2 separate regions of the Homo sapiens genome follow, and region 1 is linked to region 2. Evidence: promoter capture Hi-C in human tissues and cell types (Jung and others, 2019). All regions are on one chromosome and are shown on one strand. The core of a region is centred on a gene start or on the middle of the fragment in contact, and the rest is flanking DNA. Distances in the headings are between cores, read along the strand shown. Region 1 overlaps PTAFR (platelet activating factor receptor). Region 2 holds the start of XKR8 (XK related 8).

The links. Contacts are between HindIII fragments. The study calls those that stand out against the background at their distance.
Region 1: a fragment that was not itself captured here is called in contact with the fragment with the promoter of XKR8 in region 2 in 1 of the 25 tissues and cell types used here (mesenchymal stem cells).

What each region holds. Positions count from the first base shown.
Region 1 is chr1:28,161,105-28,167,842 of GRCh38, reverse strand. All of the region lies in intron 1 of PTAFR (platelet activating factor receptor), which reads left to right. Among named protein-coding and RNA genes, the nearest start is that of PTAFR, 12 kb to the left of the region's middle. The HindIII fragment of the contact is 3,366 bases long and covers 2,733-6,098 here.
Region 2 is chr1:27,955,984-27,963,399 of GRCh38, reverse strand. XKR8 (XK related 8) reads right to left here and starts at 3,427. Exons shown (of 3, transcript NM_018053.4): 1 at 3,038-3,427. The coding sequence starts at 3,330. It overlaps SMPDL3B (sphingomyelin phosphodiesterase acid like 3B), which reads right to left. Exons shown (of 8, transcript NM_014474.4): 7 at 7,318-7,416; 8 at 4,248-4,924. The coding sequence ends at 4,562. RefSeq lists an enhancer at 2,923-3,486 and a silencer at 3,167-3,556. The HindIII fragment of the contact is 22,893 bases long and covers 1-6,796 here.

The sequences.
Region 1 (6,738 bases), core at 3,166-5,665, 200 kb before region 2:
ACATGGCGAAACCTCGTCTCTACTAAACGTACAAAAATTAGCCGGGCGAGGTGGCGGGTGCCTGTAGTCCCAGCTACTAGGGAGGCTGAGAACCGCTTGAACGCGGGAGGCGGAGGTTGCAGTGAACCAAGATCGTGCCACTGCACTCCAGCCTGGGCGACAGAGTAAGGCTCCATCTCAAAAAAAAAAAAAAAAAAAAAAAAAAAAAATCCCGTTTTCAGTTCTTTTGAATATATAGTATACCCAGAGCGGAACTGTTGGGTCATATAATCATTCTAATTTTAGTTTTTTGAGGAGCTTCTATACTCTTTTCCATAGTGGCTGCACCGTTTTGGAATCCCACGAACACTATGCGAAAGTTCCAATTTCTCACATCCTTGCTGACACATTTCTGTTTTACTGATAGTGGCCATTCCAGTGGGTTTGAGGTGATATTGCATTATGGTTTCAATTTGCATTTCTCTGATGATCAGTGATATTGAGCCATCTTTTCACATGTTTATGGTCATTGGTATATCGTCTTTGGAGAAATGTCTATTCAGGTTCTTTGCCCATTTTTTAAATTGAATTTTTTGTTATTGTTGTTACTGAGTTGTAGGAGTTCTGCATATTAACCCCTTATCTGATATCTGGTTCCATCCGAAAGGTTGCCTTTTCTCCCATCCACAGGTTGCCTTTCCACTCTGCTGATTGTTTTCCTTTGCTTCATGGAGATTATTTAAAGTTTGCCAAAAAATAGTTTATTTGTGCTTTCGTTGCCTGTGCTTTTGGTGTCATATCCAGGAAATTATGACCCATTCCAATGTCATGAGGCTTTTTATTGTTTTTAATGTAAATAACTAATTAATTAATTTTTTTGTTGTTTAGAGACAGAGTCTCCCTCTGTTGCCTAGGCTGGAGTACAGTGGCATGATCATAGCTCACTTCAGCCTTGAGCTCCTGGGCTCAAGGTATCCTCCTGTCTCAGCCTCTGAATAGCTGAGACTACAGGTGCATGCCATCGTGCTCAGCTAATTTTTTAAATTTTGTGTAGAAACAAGATCTTGCTACGTTGCCCAGGCTGATCCCAAACTCCTGGCTTCAAGCAATCCTCCTACCTAGGCCTCTCAAAGTTCTGGGATTACAGGCATGAGCCACTGTATCTGGCCTGTTGTGAAGCTTTTTTTTTTTTTGAGATGGAGTCTTGCTCTGTTTCCCAGGCTGGAGTGCAATGGCACGATCTTGGCTCACTGCAACCTCCGCCTCCCTGGTCCAAGTGATTCTCGTGCCTCAGCCTCCCGAGTAGCTGGGATTACAGGCACCCGCCATCATGCCTGGCTACTTTTTGTATTTTTGTAGAGACGGGATTTCACCATGTTGGCCAGGCTGGTCTTCAACTCCTGACCTCAGGTGATCTGCCCACCTTAGCCCCACAAAGTGCTGGGATTACAGGCGTGAACCACCACACCCCGCCAAGAAGCTTTTATCCTATGTTTTCTTTGAGGAGTTTTATAGTTTCAGGTCTTATGTTTAGGTCTTTAATCCATTTTAAGTTAATTTTTGTATAATATATGGTGTAAGATAAGAGCCCATCTTCATTCTTCTGCATGTGGATATCCATCTTTCCCAGCACTTTTCGTTGAAGGGACTATTCTTTCCCCATTGTGTAATCATGGTCCTCTTGTCAAAGATTATTTGACTATGTATGTGAGGGTTTATTTTGGGTCTCTCTATTCTGTCCCATTGATCTATGTGTCTGTCTTTATGCCAGTCCAAACCATTTTGATTATTGTAGCTTTGTAATATGTTTTGAAATCAGGAGTTGTCTTTCAGTTTTGTTCTTCTTTCTCAAGATTGTTTTGACTATTTGTTGTCCTTTGAGGTTTCATATGAATTTTACAATTTTTAAAAAATTTCTGTAAAAATTACACTGGGATTTTGGTAGAATGGCATTGAACCTGTAGATCACTTTGGGTGGTATGGACATTTTAATAATATTAAGTCTTCCAATCCATGAACTTGGGATGTCTTTCCATTTATTTGTGTCATCTTCAATTTCTTTCAGCAATTTTTTTTTTTCCTAGACAGAGTCTCGCTCTGTCACCCAGGCTGGAGTGCAGTGGCACGATCTCGGCTCACTGTAAGCTCCGCCTCCTGGGTTCATGCCATTCTCCTGCCTCAGCCTCCCGAGTAGCTGGGACTACAGGCGCCTGCCACCACGCCTGGCTAATTTTTTGTATTTTTAGTAGAGACGGGGTTTCACTGTGTTAGCCAGGATGGTCTCGATCTCCTGACCTCGTGATCCGCCTGTCTCGGCCTCTCAAAGTGCTGGGATTACAGGCGTGAGGCACCGCGCCTGACCTTCAGCAATGTTTTGTAGTTTTCAATGTACAAGTCTTTTGCCTCCTTGGTTAAGTTTGTTTCTTTTTTTTTTTTCCTTTTTTTTTTTTTTTTTTTTTTGAGACAGAGTCTTGCTCTGTCGCCCAGGCTGGAGTGCAGTGGCATGATCTTGGCTCACTGCAGCCTCCGCCTCCCGGTTCAAGTGATTCTCCTGGCTCAGCCTCCTGAGTAGCTGGGACTACAGGCATGCGCCACCACGCCCAGCTAATTTTTGTATTTTTAGTAGAGATGGGGTTTCACCATGTTAGCCAGGCTGGTCTCAAACTCCTGAACTCAAGTGATCTGCCTGCCTCAGCCTCCCGGAGTGCTGGGATTATTATAGGCATGAGCCATCGTGCCTGGCTGGTTAAGTTTATTTCTAAGTATGTTATTTTTTTTGAATACTGTTGTAAATAAGATTGTTTTCTTAATATCCTTTTCTCTTAGTCCATATAAAAATCTTCATTTACAAATGAGGAAACAGAGACTCAGAATCACAGGATGAGCTTAGTGGTTGAACCAGGATCTGACCCAGCTCTCGCCCTACCAGGCGGGAGTCAGATGGATACAGAGCAGGTCATGCCATCCCTTTGTCGCATTCCCTTCCCAGCTTTGAGGAACAAAGGTAAAAGCAGGGCCCCAGGTCAAAGGCATCTCTTCCTGGGGCCTCACAGCATCTGGAGCTCCCATTCTCAGGCTGTAAGACAGGTCTGTGAGTGGACAAGCTGGCCAAGGAGCAGTTTGCTTCTAGCAGGGGACACAGCTTGTTCTAGGAGAGTCAGAATGAACCTTGGAGTTCAAAATCCCAAGTCTGCCACTTCCCCGCTGTGTGACTATGGACAAATCTATTTTCTTCTCTAGTCTCACTTTTTACCCCTAGAAAATTAGGTATCTTGTAAAACCAGCCTCACGAAGATGATCTGAGGAGGAAATATGATCATAGGCAAGATGTACTGTATACCAGTAAATGGTGCCCAGTGTCTTGAAATTAGGGGGGCTCCAGCCTCATGATCCCCACAGAGCAAGGAGTACTTGGATCCAAGAGAGTGTGCCCACTTGGAATGTGGTGTTCCCCCGCCTTCACCACTTCTAGTCCTTGCCCTGTTGGTGAATGCACCCTCAGGCCTGCGGGGCTGCAAGGAACTGCTGGTGCAGGAGCTGTGGATGAACTTGGATGTATCTTATTTATAGCTTATAAATATTTAGAATTTTGTACTTTTGACCTCAACTGGCCCCACAAATGTTAAGAGCTAGCAGGACTGGTGAACCCAACTTCCCAACCCACAATCTGGCCTGGGAAATCAACCAGCACATACCTCCTTCTGTCCATCTCCCGATGGTCCCTCCTCTCTGGCTGTCCAGCTATGGATGAGAACCCCTTCTCCAGGTTCCCTAGGGACTGGGAATGTTTCCAGCAGGGATGAGGGCCGAATGCTGCACAGGGAAAAGGGTACCAGATCCAGACAGCAGAATTCTTCTGTCTCATGAATATTTATGGCCTCTCTACCCCACCCCCAGCTGAAGGCTGTGCCTGGGCCAGCTGCCCAGCCTCGATCCATCAGGGAACTGTGCCCATGTGTTAAACTGAGTGGTCTGAGCCTCTTCTTTTCTTTCCAAATGTTCATCCTCTTCCTGAGCTGTTGAAAGCTTTGTTGCCATTAGCTGGAGGCTCTATCTGGAGCTGGCAGGAAAGCCAGTGTGTAGGTCAAAGCCCCTAGGTCAATGTTGGCCCACAGTCCCCTCCCCTGGCTCCAAGCAGCTGGGCCAGTGGGGAGAGGGAGGCTTGGTCATTTGTGGCTCAGGTCCTGTTCCAGCCACTTTGCATACTTATCTTTGAAACCATTGTTAGGATTGTAAGATTTTGCAAATGAAGACATTGAAGGTTAGAGAGGCGAGGTCACTTGCCCCAGGTCATACAGCAAGTAAATGGTAAGCCAGGTATGAACCTGTAGACCTTTCTGACTCCAGAGACCTTGTTCTCCCTAACCCACTCCACCCCAGTACAGCTCCCCTGGGGAGACTGTGCACACTTCCTTTGTGCCGGGGATTTCGGAGCCATCATCAGGGCATGGCCACTCATCCATTCATTCCTCGGTGCCCGACACTGGGATTGAAGAGATGAAAAAGATCTAGTCCCTGCCCTCAGGAAGTGCCCAGTCTGACAAGGAAACAGCCACAGAAATTAATACTTAAAACATACTGTATCAGGTGCTAGACTGAGGAATGCGCCCAGTGCATAGGGACCCAGAGAAGAAGGCAACTCATTTTGCCTGTGGCGATCAGGGAAGGCATCCCAGAGGAAGTGCTTTTTCAGATTAGGTCTTAAGATGAGTAAGATTTTTCTAGGTAAAGCAATAGGCAAAAGCAGGCTGCTGGAAAGGCAAAGAGATTTGAGGAAAAATGGAGTTTTTAGGGAAGCAGCGAGAAATTCAGTGCAGCAAGAGTAGAAAATGAGTAGCGGGGAATGGTGGAAAATAAGATGGGAAAGGAGCTTAGACTTGATCCTGGGCCAGGGGAGCCACGGAAGATGTTAGCCCAGGCAAGTGTGTGGCTGGCAGTTGTTGGGGTACAACATGTCTCAGATTTCGGTGCGTGCACGAATCGCCTGGGAATCTTATTAACATATGGAGTCTTTTTTTTTTTTTTTTTTTTTTTGGAGACAAAGTCTCGCTCTGTCGCCCAGGCTGGAGTGCAGTGGTGTGATCTTGGCTCACTGCAACCTCTGTCTCCTGGGTTCAAGCAATTATTCTCCTGCCTCAGCCTCCAGAGTAGCTGGGATTACAGGCACCCACCACCATGCCTGGCTAATTTTTGTAGTTTTATTAGAGAGGGGGTTTCATTATGTTGGTCAGGCTGGTCTCGAACTCCTGACCTCAAGTGATCCACCTGCCTCAGCCTCCCAAACTGCTGGGATGACAGGCGTGAGCCACCATGCCCGGCCAACATACAGATTCTGATACAGGAGATCTGGGGTGGGACCCAAGATTCTGCATTTCTAACAAGCTTGCAGGTGGTGCCAATGCTGCTCGTCCAAGGACCACAGTTTGAGTCCTGAGTTTGTAGAGGGCTCACTCTGCCTTGTGTGGCAGCTGCTCTGTCTGGGGAGTAGGCAATCCTGTCGGTTGCTGGGTGTTTGTTCACCTGACAAATGTTTACCAAACTTTTGCCCCAGCCAAGCTCCCTGAGTACAGGGGACGGGGAGAGGAATTGAAAATGCCACTTTCTGGTCCATGCCACCACCATCTCTGACCTCCAAAATGCTCTTGCTGTTTCCACGCTTGCTCCCTACCATCTATTCTCTACCTGACAGCTAGAGCGAGTCCGATCATGTTACTTGCCTGCTTAGCGACACTGAAGCAGCTCTCCGAGGCTCACAGAATAAAATCCCAACTCCTTACCATGGCTCAGGAGTGATCTGCAGCCAGGTGTCCTCTGATCACATCCCACTCTTCCCATTTCTCACTCCCCTAGGGCCACACCAACCTTTCAGTTTCTTGTTCCTACTTCAGAACATGATGAAATTATTCCCATTACAGGCCCTTTGCACATGATACTCTCTGGCTGGAATAATCCAGATCGTCCTCTTACTTGTTCCTTTTTTCTTTTTTAGAGTTCAGCCAGGGGTAGACACAGATTTTATAGGTTACTAAAGCTTATACAATTTGAAGGGCCCCCCTTTGAAGATACCAAATTACAAATATACAATTAGATACAGGGCCTAGGAGAGGGCCTTAAAGCTTAAGCTTCATTGACTTCATGGTAAAGCTGTCTGTGGTTTTGTTTGTATGTCACCTCCTCCAAGAAGCCTTTCCTGGTCATTCTACTTAAAACAGCCACCAGCTGGGTGCAGTGGCTCATGCCTGTAATCCTAGCACTTTGGGAGACTAAATCAGGCAGATCACTTGAGCTCAGGAGTTCAAGACCAACCTGGGCAACATAGTGAGACCTTGTCTCTATTTATTAAAAAATAAAAATAAAAAAAAAGCCATCTACCCTATCTTCATGTTACTATTTTTATTTCCTTCATTAAATTCATCACAATTTGAAATTATCTTATTTGTTGCTCCACTTATTTTTGACTGTTTCCCCCAACTAGAATGTAAGCTCCTCGAGAGCAGGAACTTTGTTTTGTTTCTGCAGTCTCCCCAACATAGTGCCCAACACCCAGAAGGATGTCAATAACTGTGAGGTGAATGCATGGACATTGTCTCTGCCTCTGGTTGGCAGAGAGGTCACATAGAGGCAATTTCAGTGGGATAAAGAGCTATGAGCTACGGAAGTCCAAAGAATGGGCACTTAACCAGACCGCGGGTGGAGCTGGGTGTGCAGGAGGCCAGGAGTCTTAGAAAGAGCTACTTGGAGGAAATGAGGTCTGAGCAA
Region 2 (7,416 bases), core at 2,178-4,677:
TCTCCTCACATCCATGCTATGGGGCCTTCGGCAATGTCCTAACCTCACTGAACTTGTTTCATCTGTAAAATGAGGATCGAGGCCGGGTGTGGTGGCTCATGCCTGTAATCCCAGCACTTTGGGAGTCTGAGGCGGGCTGATCACGAGTTCAGGAGATTGAGACCATCCTGGCTAACATGGTGAAGCCTCGTCTCTACTAATACAAAAAATTAGCTGGGTGTGGTGGTGCGCGCCTGTAGTCCCAGCTACTCAGGAGGCTGAGGCAGGAGAATCTCTTGAATCTGCAAGGCGGAGGTTACAGTGAGCCGAGATCGTGCCACTGCACTCCAGCCTGGCGACAGAACAAGACTCCGTCTCAAAAAAAACAAAAAAGCAAAAATGGGGATCAATACACCTTCTACTCCCGCTGGCTAAGCACTGTCCCAAGCTCATCACAAACCTTGTCCTGTTTACTTCTCACAAAAGCCCATTTTACAGATGGGGAAACAGGATCAAGAAGCTAATAAGGTCTGGGTGCAGTGGCTCGCGCCTGTAATCCCAACATTTTGACAGGCCAAGGCAAGAGGATCACTGGAGGCCAGGAGTTTGAGACCACCCTGGGCAACACAGCAAGCCCCATCTCTACAAAGAATTTTTTTTAATTAGTTGGACGTGGTGGTACAAGCCTGTAGTCCAAGCTACTCAGGAGGCTGACGCAGGAGGACAGCTTGAGCCCAGGAGTTCAAGGCCACTGTGAGCCATGATTGATTGTGCCACTGCACTCCAGCCCAGGCAACAGAGACCCTGCCTCTCTCTCTCTTTTTTTTTTTCTTTTTTTTTGGAGACAGAGTCTACATCTGTCGCTTGTCGCCCAGGCTAGAGTGCAGTGGCACAAACTCGGCTCACTGCAACCTCCACCTCCCAGGTTCAAGCGATTCTCCTGCCTCGGCCTCCAGAGTAGCTGGGATGCTGGGATTACAGGCATGCGCCACCACACCTGGCTAATTTTTGTAGAGATGAGCTTTTGCCATGTTCAGCAGGCTGGTCTCAAACTCCTGACCTCAAGTGATCCACCCACGTCAGCCTCCCAGACTGCTAGGATTACAGGCATGAGCCACCAAGCCTGACCAGACCCTACCTCTTTTTAAAAAACAAACAAAAAATTATAAGCAGCTAATAAGTACTGGAATGAGGATTTGGATCCAAACCTGAATTGGAAAGGCATGCTATAAAGTTGCCTGAGGCAGTAGTTCTCAAACTTTAGTGTGCCCAAGATCTCCTGGGGTCCTGTGGGCAAGAGGACATTTGCCTCTTGGGCACTTCTGGGCACAGGCCAGATGGAATCAGACTCTGCCTTGCCCCGGCCACACAGGGGAGGGGCTGGAGGAGGGTTAGATTGGAAGGAGGGATCCCATTTAAGAGGCTGGCCCTGAGTGGTTAAGGATGGAGATTGGGGCGGAGTTAAGAGAGTCCAGAGTTTGGACAGACAGGTCTGGGGTACCCACTGGCATGAAGAGTAAGTGGAGGATGCACCAAGGACCCTCCACCCAGAACTTTGCTCTCAGTTGCCTATTGGGAGAGAACCCCGTTCACTCATCACAAGCTCATTCACCAGACATGTACTGTCACTTCCCCTGGAAGGACACAAGAACACACTGAGGAGCAGGCAGGCAGGACAGGCTGGGGTTCTCCCTCAGCAGGAGCCTTTGCCTATGGTCCCCAGTGACCTAGCAGGGACCCCTGCCTCGGCCAATTCACAGGCAGGAACAGAGACCCATTTCCAAAGCCAAAGCTAGTACAGTCTGTCTGACTCAAGCTCAGCAGAAATATTGGCCACAAAGATGCATAAGGTAGTTACAGATTCACGGCTCATGGAGGCCTGCCCAGGACTTAACAACTGCACCCCTTCATGCCCACCCGGGGTTTTCTGATGTCTCTATAATCCCTCAGGCAAAACTGCCACATTCAAAGCTCCTCTCTTCCACTCCTGGAGACTCCGTGTGGCTTTGTCAAGGCCAGATCTCAAGAGTTTGTAAAAACGGATTCAAGAGCAGATCCTGGCCCTGGCCACCCCATCCCAACCCACACCACCCTCTGCCCTGACTTTGTCGCATGCCTCTGAGCCTTGGGTTTGTTTTCCCATCTCTACGAGGCTCCACCAGGTCCAAAAAGGAGCAGAATCCACACACATTTTCCAGGACCCAGCCTATGCCCAGCCCTGGCTGGCTCCATGGGCATGGATGAGTCAGAGGCCATCTCTGCCCTCTTGCTGGGTCTGGGGTGGGAAGCCAAGTTTCAGGGGGAAGAATACAACCAGGCAGACAGGGTGAGAGGCGGCCTTTGTGAGGGGCAAGCGCTGTGGTGGGGTCAGGGCTGCTGAAACTCCCAGGGAGGCCCAGGTCAAGAAGCCAGCTGAGGTTGCTGAGTGCTCACTCTGAGCCAGGGCAGTGGACAGATGTCATTTCACTGCATCTTCACCAAACGGGCAGGCGCTATCCCCATCCCAATGGGAACAGCAACCAAACAGCCCCACTGAGAGGTCAGTGACTTCCCAAGGCCCTGCCCATGCTGAAACATGGGATGCTGAACTGAGTCCGCAGCCCCTGCCATTACAGGCCAGGCACTGTGCGAGGCACTTTCTCATTCTTTCGCTCACTCTTCACAACAGGCCTGCCCGTCACACCTGTCTCAGGGTGACTACCTCCTTTCTACGCAGGAGGAAACTGAGGCTCAGAGAAATGCAGAAGTGAGGCGAGAGGGGGCAAAGCCAGAAGTGGATCCCTGAGAGGTCCGACTTCAAAGCCCATGCGCCTCCCTTTCTTCCCTGGGCCTCAGTTTCTTCGCCTGTGCCAGGAAAGCTAGGGCTAGAATGAAGGCAGTCTACCGGGATTCCCTTTCCGTAAAGGGCTGCACGCTCACCTGTAGGCCAGGCGCCCACAGGACTTGGTTCCCTCTCCCAGTCCCCTTCCCGGCATATGGCGTGTCACCTGTACAGGTGACCCAGCTGACGGAGGTGCTGGGCTCCGACACTCCTCCCCTCCCGGGGCGAAGCACTCACCTGTACAGGTAACCCAGCTGCAGGAGATGCAGCAGCGCCAGGCAGCGGCGCGGGGGCTGCGACCCGTGCAGGCCGGCAGGGTCAGCGCGCAGCCAGAGCCAGCTGAAGAGCTGCAGCGCCACGGAGGCCAGGCCCAGCAGCGCCAGCACCAGCGCCGCCCACAGGTAGCGGCCGCCGAGCGCATACTGGACGGCGGCCCACAGGTCGGTGCCCAGGTCGAGCAGGAAGGCGGCGGTGCCCAGCACGCCCAGGACCAGGTCCCGAAGGAGGGCGCCGCGGGACGACCAGGGCATGGCCCGCCGGCCTCCGCCCTCTCCTGCTCCTCCGCGGTTGGGGCCTGCCCTCAGGGCCCGGGGTTGCCGAGGCAGGAAGGAGGTGGGCGCAGCCCTCGGGGCGGCCCGGGGCCTGGGCCTGGTGGGCGGGACTTCCCCGTCCCGCCCCGTCCGGGGAGGAGCGAGGCCCGCGGTTGTCCCAGGTCCTCCGCCCGAACCCCAGCTAAAAGCCGCTCGATGCTCTGCTCCCGCCGCCAGCCCAGGGGTCCACCGACCCAGCCCAGCCAAGCCCGCTAGGCCTGAAGACCGACTGCCCTTCGCTTCGCAGGCTTCAAATGGCCTAGTTTTACCTTTGAGGCGCCCGGAGGCCCAAGAAAGCGAGAGGGCGGGGAGACTAGAGCCTGGACCAGGGCTGCGATCCCTCACACCTGTATTGTTGCAAAACAAAACGAAACGCAAAGGCACATTCTAATCCCTAAGTGCGAGACTTTGCAACAACGCGTGCGCCTCGATCCAGGGATACCCGGAGAGCACGGGGCCGCTGGGTTCACGCCAGCGATCCGAGTCGGGGGAGGGCGGGCGTTAGGTTCCTGCAAATGAGTTAACCTCATTTCCATACGGAAGGGAATAGAGGCCGGGCGCGGTGACTCACGCCTGTAATCCCAACACTTTGGGAGGCCCAGGCGGGCGGATCACCTGAGGTCAGGAGTTCGAGACCAGCCTGGCAAACATGGCGAAACCCCGTCTCTACTAAAAATACAAATTAGTCGGGCGTGTTGGCGCGCGCCTGTAGTCCCAGCTAGGAGGCTGAGGCAGGAGAATCGCTTGAACCCGGGAGGCAGAGGTTGCAGAGAGCCGAGATAGCGCCACTGCACTCCGGCCTGGGCGACAGAGCGAGACTCCGTCTCAAAAGAAAAGAAAAGGAACACAACACAGAATCAAACGCATGATGAGCTTTGTTTTGTGAGTTAAACATAATACGCAAAAGAAGTATGCTTGTAGGGGGGTCTTGGGTCGTCATTTCTTTTCTGTTTCTGGTTTGTTTTTGGAGAGAGTCTGGCTTTGTCACCCAGGCTGGAGTGCAGTGGCGCGATCACGGATGGCTGCAGCTCCTGGGGCTTCGCTTCCTGATTCGGTTGTCCTATTTCAGTTCACTCCTCAGGCGCGGAGGAAATGGTGGAAGGCCCAGCTCTGGGTGATCCTGGGCGCTGCCCCCGTTACCCGTTACCAGGAAGAAGGTGAGCCTGGCAGGTCACAGCACGAGCGTGCACAGGCCCAGCAGGGCCATCAGCAGCAGCGGGAGCTGGGGCACGGGCGTGGTGCCAGAGGCATACAGACAGGTGGTGTAAGCGTCAATGTCCACCTGGCGCATGGCACACACGTGCTGCATGCTGCAGGCCTCGTCGCAGACCCCAGCAGAGTAGCTGACTGAGTTATAGACGTAGTAGCGCTGCAGTGTGCTCTGGTCGCCAGCGATGCGGTCCAGCACTGTGTGCATGGAGTGGGCGCTGGCGTCCGGCACCCCATAGGCCTCGGTCAGCTGGTACTCGAGCTCCCAGCGCGGCGTCCCCTGAGCATTCGCCTGGCTCAGGTTCATGAAGTAGGTCACCATGTCCTGGAAAAAGGGTTTGGGGTAGACCGGCTGTGAGCAGTTGTCTGCTTCCATCCCCATCCTGCACCTTGCATTTGCCCCCAAGTTCTTTAGAGCAGTGACCATGACCACTAGTAGTTATTGAGCACTTAGCTGTGCACCCATTGTGCTTGGCAGACATCCTCTGAATCGAATGAGGTAACTGCGCTTATTACCTAGGTTTCACAAATGAGGAAACTGAGGCCTAAAGAGGTTAATTCACTTGGCCAGGGTCATACAGGTATTCATACAGGTATTCAGTGGTAGCAGGATTGGACCCCAGGTTTACCCCAGGTCCCACCATGCTAGGGTACACATAGAAGACGCTCAGTAAATATTTACATAATGAATAGATAAAAGCAACATAAAAAGAGCAACACTAAGCATGAGAGAGATTATGAACTGTAGACTCCTAGGACCCAGGTGCATGTTCACGGCTAGACTCTGCAGGGTTCATCAGTCCAGCGGGTTCCAGGTACATTTATGAACCTGCTTCAGGCCACTGCAGACGGGGTAAGAGGAGCTGCCCGTATGCATGGCCACTCTGTGCCAGGAACATTCCATTATTTCATGTAGTCCTCCTCAAACCCTGCGAGGTTCTGTTACTCCCATTTTACAGATGAAGCAAGTGAGGCACAGAGGTCAAAAGATCAAAAAGCTTATGAGTGGTGGAGCCAGGATTCAAGCTCAGGGCTGACTCCCTCCCTGAGGAGAATGGAGGGCCTGTTAGGGGGTGATGGTGCAGCCTGCCATTCCCCTTGCTCAGACCCTTGGAGTGCCCATGTGGACAACAGGCCACTCTTTAAACCCCTCAGACCTCTTCTTAATCTACCTTTACTAGAATCAAGGACCTGGGTTAGCTCATGCAGTCGTTGGCTTTAAATGTCCTCTCTCCACTCCCAGATCACATCTCTATCCTCACCTCTTCAAGCTCCAACTTGCCCCTTCCCTGTCCACTTTCACTTGATGCCATTTAGCCCTCCCAAAGGTAACAGGTCCAAAACAAGACCTCTGACTGACCCTCCGAAGCCTGATCACCCTGCCACTTATCTCAGTAATCGGCAGCCACAGCCTACCGTTGCACAGGCCAAGAGCCTTGGAAGCCTCCTGGATTCGTCCCTTTTTCTCACAGCTCATATCCACTCTAGCAAATCCTGCATCCAGAATTCATCTGGGACCTGGCACTTTTCACCATCTCACTGCCTCCACCCTGGGCAAGCTACTATCCTGTCATCTGGGATTTGTCCTTCCCTCCAAACGGCCTCACTGCTCCCCCACCTGCCCCTACAGCCTGTTCCCTGCACAGCAGACATGATGATTCCATAAAATTATAAGTCACAGGATTTCATTCTTCTGCGCAAAACCCTCCAAATCCAGAGTCCTCATGGAGGCCTGCAAGATCGGACCTCCCCTCCCACTCTCCCCTTGTGCCTCTTACTGTGGCCACATGGCCTCCGTGCTCTTCCCCTAACCTACCACGCACATTCCCACCCCGGGGCCTTTGACTTGCTGTTCCCTCCACCTCCCCAAGATACCCACTGGGCTCCCTCCCTCAATACACTCAGAACTCAAATGGCACCTTATGTGGACACTTCCCCTTCCCACCTATCTAACACAGTACACACCTCCCATAGCTGTCACCCTGTCGCCTCACTGTTTTGATTTTCTCCTTAGCCCTTCTCTCAGTACTATAATTAATTCTACATATTTATTGTCCCTCTCCTGTAAGATGTCAGGTCCAGGAGAGGGGTGACTTTGTTTTTAAATTTACATATCTTCTGAGATTAGAACAGGGCCTGGCCAATGGCACACACTTAATGCATTTTGTTGGATAAATAAAGGAATAATATTTTTCATCTCAACAACCACAAGCTCATCCTACGAGGTGAGGGACTGCCCAAAGAATTAGGGGCTGGAGCCTCGTCTGTGTACGGAAAATGTGGACAATGGGCTTGAAGTCAGACTGTGGGAAGCCTTGAGTACTAGGTCAAGGAGACACAACTTTATCTTGAAGGCACTGGGGAGCCACTGAAGGTTTTTGAGCAGGACGGAGACAAGATGAAAGTGGTGCTATAGGAGATTAGTTTCTTCTCTCTTGTGTAGCGGATGGGCCATAGCAGGGCAGGGCCAGAGGCAGGGAGACCAGGTATGAAGCTGTGACAGTCATCCAGGGGAAAAGGTGACTTGGTGAGGCACTGCCCTGACTCGGTGGCAGGTGCCTCCAGGGTTCTGATCCTGAGCTGGAGAAGGGTGGAAGGAGCTCAACCTTCCTGAGGCTCAGTGGTCAGGGGAAGGTGGATAAGCTGAGAGTGAGGGAAGGTGGTGATGCATTTAAGCCCCTCCCACCCTCCTCCTCTGGCCTCCGCAGGACTCCTGACCTTCAGGCTCAGTGTGGCTCGGTCATATTCGAACACCCGGATGGCTGGATTGTTGGCCCCATTGACCACTCCAGGTAATGTGGTTTTCCATGGGGTGAC